Regions from separate parts of the Homo sapiens genome. Here regions 1 and 3 are each linked to region 2. Evidence: promoter capture Hi-C in human tissues and cell types (Jung and others, 2019). All regions are on one chromosome and are shown on one strand. Each heading gives the region's core, a stretch centred on a gene start or on the middle of the fragment in contact. The rest is flanking DNA. Distances are from core to core; before and after follow the strand shown.

Evidence for each region. The method cuts DNA at HindIII sites, captures the fragments that hold promoters and counts their contacts. A contact is called where the count stands out against the background at its distance.
Region 1: a contact is called between a fragment that was not itself captured here and the fragment with the promoter of TSSK6 in region 2, in 3 of the 25 tissues and cell types used here (heart left ventricle, heart right ventricle and spleen).
Region 3: a contact is called between the fragment with the promoter of GMIP here and the fragment with the promoter of TSSK6 in region 2, in 8 of the 25 tissues and cell types used here (IMR-90 fibroblasts, adrenal gland, aorta and 5 more).

Annotation. Positions count from the first base shown.
Region 1 is chr19:19,342,973-19,345,472 of GRCh38, reverse strand. MAU2 (MAU2 sister chromatid cohesion factor) reads right to left here. Exons shown (of 19, transcript NM_015329.4): 10 at 1,533-1,636; 11 at 547-624; 12 at 104-169. Among named protein-coding and RNA genes, the nearest start is that of MAU2, 23 kb to the right of the region's middle. The HindIII fragment of the contact is 8,189 bases long and covers 1-2,500 here.
Region 2 is chr19:19,514,099-19,516,967 of GRCh38, reverse strand. TSSK6 (testis specific serine kinase 6) reads left to right here and starts at 1,420. Exons shown (of 1, transcript NM_032037.4): 1 at 1,420-2,749. The coding sequence starts at 1,541. The coding sequence ends at 2,362. It overlaps NDUFA13 (NADH:ubiquinone oxidoreductase subunit A13), which reads right to left and starts at 743. Exons shown (of 5, transcript NM_015965.7): 1 at 636-743. The coding sequence starts at 729. RefSeq lists an enhancer at 565-844 and a silencer at 1,055-1,174. The HindIII fragment of the contact is 21,153 bases long and covers 1-2,869 here.
Region 3 is chr19:19,642,292-19,645,361 of GRCh38, reverse strand. It overlaps GMIP (GEM interacting protein), which reads left to right and starts at 1,705. Exons shown (of 21, transcript NM_016573.4): 1 at 1,705-1,851; 2 at 2,743-2,827. The coding sequence starts at 1,833. ATP13A1 (ATPase 13A1) reads left to right here. Exons shown (of 26, transcript NM_020410.3): 26 at 1-164. RefSeq lists a silencer at 1,612-1,861 and enhancers at 2,492-2,651, 1,873-2,828. The HindIII fragment of the contact is 23,421 bases long and covers 1-3,070 here.

The DNA of each region.
Region 1 (2,500 bases), core at 1-2,500, 170 kb after region 2:
CATAGCTGACCTAGCGCGACTGCTGTCCTCATCACAGACCACGCCCGACTCCTTACTCAGAAGTGTGGCCCGCCCCGAGCAGCAAGGAGGGCCGGCACCTTACCCGCAGGGCCGTGGTGAACTGGGCTTCCGCGTTGTCCATGCAGTTGACAGAGACACAGTACAGGCCCTGGAAGAAGGTGGTGTTGTCATCAGGGCCGGCCCCTGGGGAGGGGGCTCAGATCAGAGACACGTGGTGTGCCCGGGGCCTGCACGGCTGCCCTGGAGGAGTATGACAATGGCTCTACCGAGCCAGCTGCAAGGCAGGTAATATGCTCACTGTCCCCACCTTTCAGACCCAAGCCAATGTGGGGTGGGACAAGATGCTCACTGGGAGCATTCCGGATCGTGCCTGGGAAGGTTATATGATTACCTATGGGAACATTCCGGATTCTGATTAGGGTGCTGTCAGGGGGTCCTTCACTGGGAATGTTCTGGATCTGGTTAGGTACTTACTTACTGAGAACATTCTGGATTCTCCCGGGGTGTTGTCACAGGGTTACTCACCAGCAATGTGTGCAGCTGTGCTGCATGGTTGGAGAAGAGCCGGGGGGACTGCTGGCACAGCTGGCAGACCTGGGAGATCTGCCGGGAGAGAGTGTACTGCCATCACAGGACTGCAACCTGGGACCTGGCGTCTGAGCAGCAATGGAGAGACCCCATAGCTGGTGGGTGAGCCCATGTCCTGTCTGACCAAACTGGGGTACAAAGCCCCAGCAGACACGTCCACCATGAGGGCAAAGGGCAGCCCAGATCCCATCGTGGACAGGGACCCTTGTCTGTTACTCGTCTCTTCCACTCTGTCCAACAGGTGTCTGGGTTGTAAAGGACCTCCAGCCTACTGAGGGCCCCCATGCCCTCTCAGGAGGGTGGGTACTGGGGGTAGAGTGTTCCTAATGGCAGGGTGGGGTATAACAATCACTGTCAAAGGACCCCCCAAATCCCCAGAGACCATGTGCGCTATCCCCTTGGTGTGCAAGCTTTTGGGCCATGGCCCATTAGTTTTTTGGGTTTTTTTTTTTGAGATGGAGTCTCACTCTGTTGCCCAGGTTGGAGTGCAGTAGTGCGATCTCGGCTCACTGCAACCTCTGCCTCCTGGGTTCAGGCTATTCTCCTGCCTCAGCCTCTCAAGTAACTGGGATTACAGGTGTCTGCCACCACACCTGGCTAATTTTTATATTTTTAGTAGAGGCGGGGTTTCGCCATGTTGGCCAGGCTGGTCTCAAACTCCTGGCCTCAAGTGATCCACCCGCCTCGGCCTCCCAAACTGCTGGGATGACAGGCGTGAGCCACTGCGCCCGGCCTCCACTGGTTTTTGTATGAGATTCTCTGATCAGTGGTGCCCATGCAGGGCTGTAAAACGCTGGCCGACAGCGAGACAGCAGGATGGGCTGGCCTGCCAGTATGCACTTGGCGAATTCAGTCTCTTGTCTGACACTGCTGAGACCCAACAAACTCCTGGGCCTTCCCGCCCCTCCTGCTTCCAGCCTTACCTCCTGCAGCGCCGTGGCCTTGTGACCCGTGACAAGGCGGCACATGATGATGTGCTCCAGCAGGATCACTTGGAAGGATGACAGGATGGGGCTGCAGTCCAGCACTATGGGTGAGAGTCAGGGGTAAGCATGCAGGGGAGGCCAGAGGAGGCGCCACCCCCAGCCCACCGTGCCCCCACCTCGTTCCTGTCTCCTGCCACACTGGCTAGGCACCCACCCCGTCATCTCCCCTAGTCCCCACTGCACCCTCTGAGTGAAGGAGTGTGTCTTGCTGTCCAGGTGGGGAGACGGAGCTGGAGCCAGAGGTTGGTTCCCACAGTGCTCCAAGAAGGGTTGGCTCTCACCCTCACCCTCACCCTACGTGCTCAAGAGCTTGTGGACATGGCAGGTTCTAGAAATGTAGAAATGTGGAAACCACCCTGGATCATGACACCATGCAGCAGAGCCTCAGGCAGTCGGGTAGGGGGACCTGGGCTGGGCCCCACCTCCCAACAGCCCCAAGCAACCATCCTCATATGGGAATAAGAGAAGCACAGGGCCTATCCGGCTTTGGGCTGCCTTGGCTCTGATGCCTTCTCCCCCAGCAGCACTCACGAGGGAGCAAACAGACCGACTAATGGGCACACTATACCAGCCAGGGACGTCTGCTCTGGGTTTGTGCTAGTCAAAGGTCCCTGGATGGATTAGACACTTGAGCATCTGGAAAGAACTCACGACCTCCAAAGGACATGCTGGTGGTCAGTGAGGGCTGAGTTCTGATCCTGGCCTCATCCCGAGTGTCCCTGTCACAACACTGATAATAATTGGGAAAAGCAGCTACCACCTGTTTCAACTGAGCATGACTGGGCACAAGGGACCTGACCAGTCAGGGAGGTACCCCCGACCCCAGGCCTGTCTGCTCTGCTCTGACGTTGGACACCAGCATTTATCAACTAGGGGTGACGAGACCCACCAGGCAGGGTGGCTGG
Region 2 (2,869 bases), core at 171-2,670:
TAAAAACACAAAGTTAGCCAGGCGTTGTGGCACATGCCTGTAATCCCAGCTACTCAGGAGGCTGAGGCAAGAGAATCGCTTGAACCCAGGAGGCGGAGGTTGCGGTGAGCCGAGATGGCGCCATTGCACTCCAGCCTGGGCAACAAGAGCAAAACTCCGTCTCAAAAAAAAAAAATTGAAAATTTAAAGAATATGGATTCCTGTGACACCATGCAGGCGGGGGCTGCCAGCAGGGAACCACTGCATAGAACATCTTGTAAATTCCCTCCAGGTTCCGGGTTGCGGCCTCAGCTTTGCCTTGGGGAGCCGCGGCCTTCTTTGGGCCTCAGTTTCCCCATCTTAGAAATCCAAGGGTGGCTGAGGGCCAGAGCACAGGCTATGACTCAGTTTAACCCACTGTAAAACGTAAATAACTAGAGGGACCGATTTCCTGGGCTGTTACGAGAAGGAAGAGGAGCTGGGAAAGACCTCAACAAACTGCAGCACTTAGCGTTATTACAGAAGCTATGATGGATCCCCGGGCTCCGCCTCCGGTCACACCGCCGGGAAAACTGAGGCCCGCCTGTGTCCCCGGAACCCCGCCCCCGAGCCCCGAGTGCCCAGACTCTGAGACCCCGGCGCAGAGTGATACTGACCCGACAGTCCTCGACGCGGCAAGTTCCGTTTGTAGTCGATGGGCCCATAGCCCCCCGGCGGAGGCATGTCCTGCTTCACCTTTGACGCCGCCATACTCGCAGTATCCCACACTTCCGGTCCCGGGCGGAAGTGACTTACTGCCACCGCCATGATGAGTGTGGCGGAAGCACTTGAGATGGTCCGCGGCACGGCTAGGAAGTCCCGGACAGTAGTGTAACTATCCGACCGCGCGGGAAAGCTCTGGCGGCGGACCCTGGGTAGGAATGCGCTGCCGGGCTGCAGCTGAGGGGTCTTTACTCCTCTTTTGCCCAGACAGGGCGTGACTCGCCTTGGTTCTTGCATTATAGGCCCTCGCGTTCACCTTGCCTCTGGGGTGTTGCGCAGGCCAGTCAGAAACTCCGAGCTCTCAAAGGAGCCAGGTGCCCCAGTTAAGGCCCCTTTTCCCGTTTTCGCCCCGTCTAGGGACTCTACGCGAAGCCCAGGGCTCCACGTAGTCACGGGCTGGGTACATGATGTTGGGGGGCAGCTGCTGCTCGAAGTCGGACTCACCCCAATCCCTGGAACGGATTCTGCTCCCTGGTGGTGATGGGTATCCCTTGCTAGTGGCCTCTCATCGGAAACTGACCATTCAGGATGATTATGAGTCACAAAGCAGGGAGGCTAGGGTGGCCCCGGGGCGGGGTCCCGGACCCCCACCCTAAGGCGGAGTGACGCCCGCAGTCACTTCACAAGGCAAAAATTGTTACGGGGCAATAAAAGGCACAACAGCGGCCAATGTCTGGCAGTGGGCACATGGGGGTGCGGGGGTGTAGGTGCCAAGCGCCATGGCTTAGACCCGAGATTGGAGTCCGGCCGCCCCCCGACAGCAGCCGCCTCCTGCCCCCCGTGCGCCCTAGGCGCCACCATGTCGGGAGACAAACTTCTGAGCGAACTCGGTTATAAGCTGGGCCGCACAATTGGAGAGGGCAGCTACTCCAAGGTGAAGGTGGCCACATCCAAGAAGTACAAGGGTACCGTGGCCATCAAGGTGGTGGACCGGCGGCGAGCGCCCCCGGACTTCGTCAACAAGTTCCTGCCGCGAGAGCTGTCCATCCTGCGGGGCGTGCGACACCCGCACATCGTGCACGTCTTCGAGTTCATCGAGGTGTGCAACGGGAAACTGTACATCGTGATGGAAGCGGCCGCCACCGACCTGCTGCAAGCCGTGCAGCGCAACGGGCGCATCCCCGGAGTTCAGGCGCGCGACCTCTTTGCGCAGATCGCCGGCGCCGTGCGCTACCTGCACGATCATCACCTGGTGCACCGCGACCTCAAGTGCGAAAACGTGCTGCTGAGCCCGGACGAGCGCCGCGTCAAGCTCACCGACTTCGGCTTCGGCCGCCAGGCCCATGGCTACCCAGACCTGAGCACCACCTACTGCGGCTCAGCCGCCTACGCGTCACCCGAGGTGCTCCTGGGCATCCCCTACGACCCCAAGAAGTACGATGTGTGGAGCATGGGCGTCGTGCTCTACGTCATGGTCACCGGGTGCATGCCCTTCGACGACTCGGACATCGCCGGCCTGCCCCGGCGCCAGAAACGCGGCGTGCTCTATCCCGAAGGCCTCGAGCTGTCCGAGCGCTGCAAGGCCCTGATCGCCGAGCTGCTGCAGTTCAGCCCGTCCGCCAGGCCCTCCGCGGGCCAGGTAGCGCGCAACTGCTGGCTGCGCGCCGGGGACTCCGGCTAGAAGCCGGGTGGTTCCAGCCATTCCTGCAGCCAAGGGCACTGGGCCAGGGCGGCGCACGCGCAAGAGGCGCGCTTCGAGGGAATATGCGAAGCTGCCGCGTGCTGCTGCACATGCGCTTTTTCCCTTCCGCTTCCCTCCCTTTCTTCCCACGGGGGAGTCCGCAGTTGCCCTTGTTCGGAATCCACGTTCCCCGCGATCCCGGGAGCTGGAGGCGCATGCGCATCCGCGATTCCCTGCGACCAGGCCCCGAGAGGGCGAGACCAGAGGGGACGGAAGCATTGCGCCTGCGCGGAACTCTCAGCCTCTGCGCGGAGGGCGTCCCTTCCCAACCAGCCGTGGGTGCCAGGTTCCCGGTTGGAACCTGCAATAAACTCGCTGTTCCTCGCACCTGGCTCTAACGGTGGCCCCCATTTGCGGACTAGTGGAGAAGCGATCGCTCCATCCGGGGAAGGCAGGCGCGGGTACCCTATTTTAGAGTCACGCATGTTGAGGTTATTGCTCCAAGAC
Region 3 (3,070 bases), core at 456-2,955, 130 kb before region 2:
GCCCCGGGAGGGAACCCTGCCCCCAACCCCCCACAGCAAGGCTGTACAGTCTCGCCCTTGGAAGACTGAGCTGGGACCCCCACAGCCATCCGCTGGCTTGGCCAGCAGAACCAGCCCCAAGCCAGCACCTTTGGTAAATAAAGCAGCATCTGAGATTTTAAAAAGCCCTGCCTCCACCTCGTCTGTGCCACACGGTGTTTGCTGGGGGCTCGGGGACAGAGGGTCACTGAGGAAGGTCCCAGCACCCTCCCCACAGGCGTGTGATGTTGGTGAAACCCTCTGGCACTTTCAGCACTTGAACATGGACTTGTCCCTGCCCAGAGAATTCAGTGCATATTTTCTAGTTTAACAAGCACCCCCATATTTCTGAGGTCTCTTTCACATTTTAACAACTCAGGTGCTGAGAGAAGCCTTAGGATGTGTGATATTTTTTTCTTTCCCATAATACATAACAGCATGCCTTTCTCTCGGGTGGTGTCTGAGACTTGAGGAATATGATCTGCATCATTACAAGTATTGACTCTGTCCGGTGGCTCAAGCCTGTAATCCCAGCACTTTGGGAGGCCAAGGCGGGCCCATCACAAGGTCAGGAGATCGAGACCATCCTGGCTAACACAGTGAAACCCCATCTCTACTAAAAATACAAAAAATTAGCCAGGCATGGTGGCGAGTGCCTGTAGTCCCAGTTACTCGGGAGGCTGAGGCAGGAGAATGGCGTGAACCCAGGAGGTGGAGCTTGCAGTGAGCCGAGATAACGCCACTGCACTCCAGCCTGGGCAACAGAGCGAGACTCCAACTCAAAAGAAAAACAAACAAGTACTGACTCTGTCATGCTCTTTGGGGGCCTGCGCTGCTCTACCATCTCATGTCACAGTCAGGGAGCTCTGGCTGAGCATCAGCCAGGATGTGACCTGGAAACCTGGCTTGGCTCTTAGGTTGATAGTGTTATTCCTTTCAATGGACTCACTCATCACAACTCAAGAACTGCAGAGTAGGCAGCACGGAGCCAGTCAGAGAATCCTTGCCTCCTTAACAGCCAAAGCCTTTGGACACAAAGTTATAAACATACTTTAAAGTCTATTTCCAGCCCCAAAATTCCACTGTGCTGGGGGTGGGAGCATTTTTATAACAGGCGGCTTGTGGCAACCCCAGAGCTGGTGCTTTTGGACAAACCTCCACTCCCTACCTAAAAGGGCTGCTCCCTGGTGTGCTGTAATTGGGGCCTTGAGCCTGATCCAGCTTTGAGGGTCACGGAAGGGGCGTCCCCCAGGCCAGGGGTTCTCCAGCCCGAGTATTAGAATTTTGGTTGGAATCGGACAGAATATCAGGCCTCCACCAGGGGGCGCCATGGCTCCAGCGAGGCCCAGGTGGTTTCAGGGCTCCGAGAGACAACCTGGGCAAGGGGATCACCAGGGTCGCGGGTTGTGGGAGCTCCTGGGAGAGGCCCCCCGGGACAGGTGGACTCTGCAACCATTCAGGGAGGAGGGGGCTGGGGCTCCGTGGGATTTGGGGTAGCACAAAGATCTGAGAGGGAACCTATGGCCCAGATGAAGTCTTAGGATGCCCAGGTCAGGGGCACTGCAGCCTCGAGTGGTCGCTCAGGGGGCCCTGGCCCGACCCAGTTTCAAGCGGCTCAGGTAGAGAAGGGCACTATCAAGGCTTCCGGGCTACGGGGGCGTGGTCTGATGCGGGGGCGTGGCCTCCGCTGGGCAGGGCGACGCGGAACCGAGGCGGCGGCGGCGGCTGCGGCGGCAGGAAATCGGGGCTCGGCCCCGCCGGCGCGCGACCCCATCCCCATCCCGGTCCCTGCAGAGCGATCCCCGGGCCCAGATATGGACGCAGCAGAGCCGGGTAGGGGGTCGGGGATCCGGGAGGGGCCTCCCCCGACCATCCCCTGCTTCCTACATTGAGGGCACACACTTGTCCCGCTCCGTCCTGAGAGCCAGGAGAGGAGTTCCTGAATGGGAAGGACCCAGGGATCCTCCATTGTGGGGAGCCCTGTGCCCGGATGGGTTCAGGACCCCAGCCCTTCACTCCCCCTCCCCCTTTTGATCCCTCACCCCAGACGCCTGGGGGAGGGGGCCCAGGAAGGGGAAGTGACTGCTTCTGCTTCTGATTTTTGTGATGGGGGCAGGGTGCCACGACTGCTGAGGGAGAGGGCAACGCGGTAGGATCCCCACAGGGCCCCTCTGTAGCCCTGGGGAGTCGGCAGTGCTGGTCTAGGCCCCTTAGGAGAGGGGGCAGGGGGGCAGCAGTAGAAATGTGGCGGGGTCCGACTTGGTGTTTCCGGCCGTCTTTGTGTCTGTGTTGTGTATGTGGAGTGTCATTCGGTCTTTATGTCCCTCACGGCTTCAGTCTCTCCATGTGTGTTTCTGCCCCAGGCTCTGCCTGGCTGTCCCTTGTGTATTTCCATCTGTCTAGCCCGTGGTTCCATTGTCAGACCGGCTTTCTTCTCGGGACAGCCTGGTTGCATCTGGGGCATCTGTTTTGTTGGTTTGCTTCTGGGTGCAGGCAGACCCAGGGAGTGGGTGTCTCTGTTCCCCGAGCAGCTGTCTCTGGTCTCTGGTGGTGTGTGAGTCCATCTGCCTGCCTCGAGTTGGCCCCAACCAAGCCCCCCCCAGCCCTCTCTTTCTCTCTCTCACTCTTCCCTTTCTCTTCCACCCCCTCCAAATGAGACTGGTTGAGGTGCCGTGGGTGGAGGGAGGCAGTGGTTAGCCCATGTATTACACTCCCCTCCCCTAGGACTCCCCCCAGGTCCTGAGGGCAGGAAGAGGTACAGTGACATCTTCCGGAGCCTGGACAACCTCGAAATCTCACTGGGGAACGTGTGAGTCTGAGCCTGGATCACCCCCAAATCCTGCCAAGATGCCCCAAGCCCCTAACCATTTAGGTGCCTTGCAGTCCCATTTGGAACCTGTAACATCTGGACCTACATACCTAATAACCAGAGAAGTCTAGGATGGGACCCTCCAAAATGCCTCGGTATCCTAAAAGTGTCCCCCTAAATAGACTGGAAATCCCCAAAGTGGTCCTAGAACCCCTACATATCCTTGTAACCCCTTAAAATATT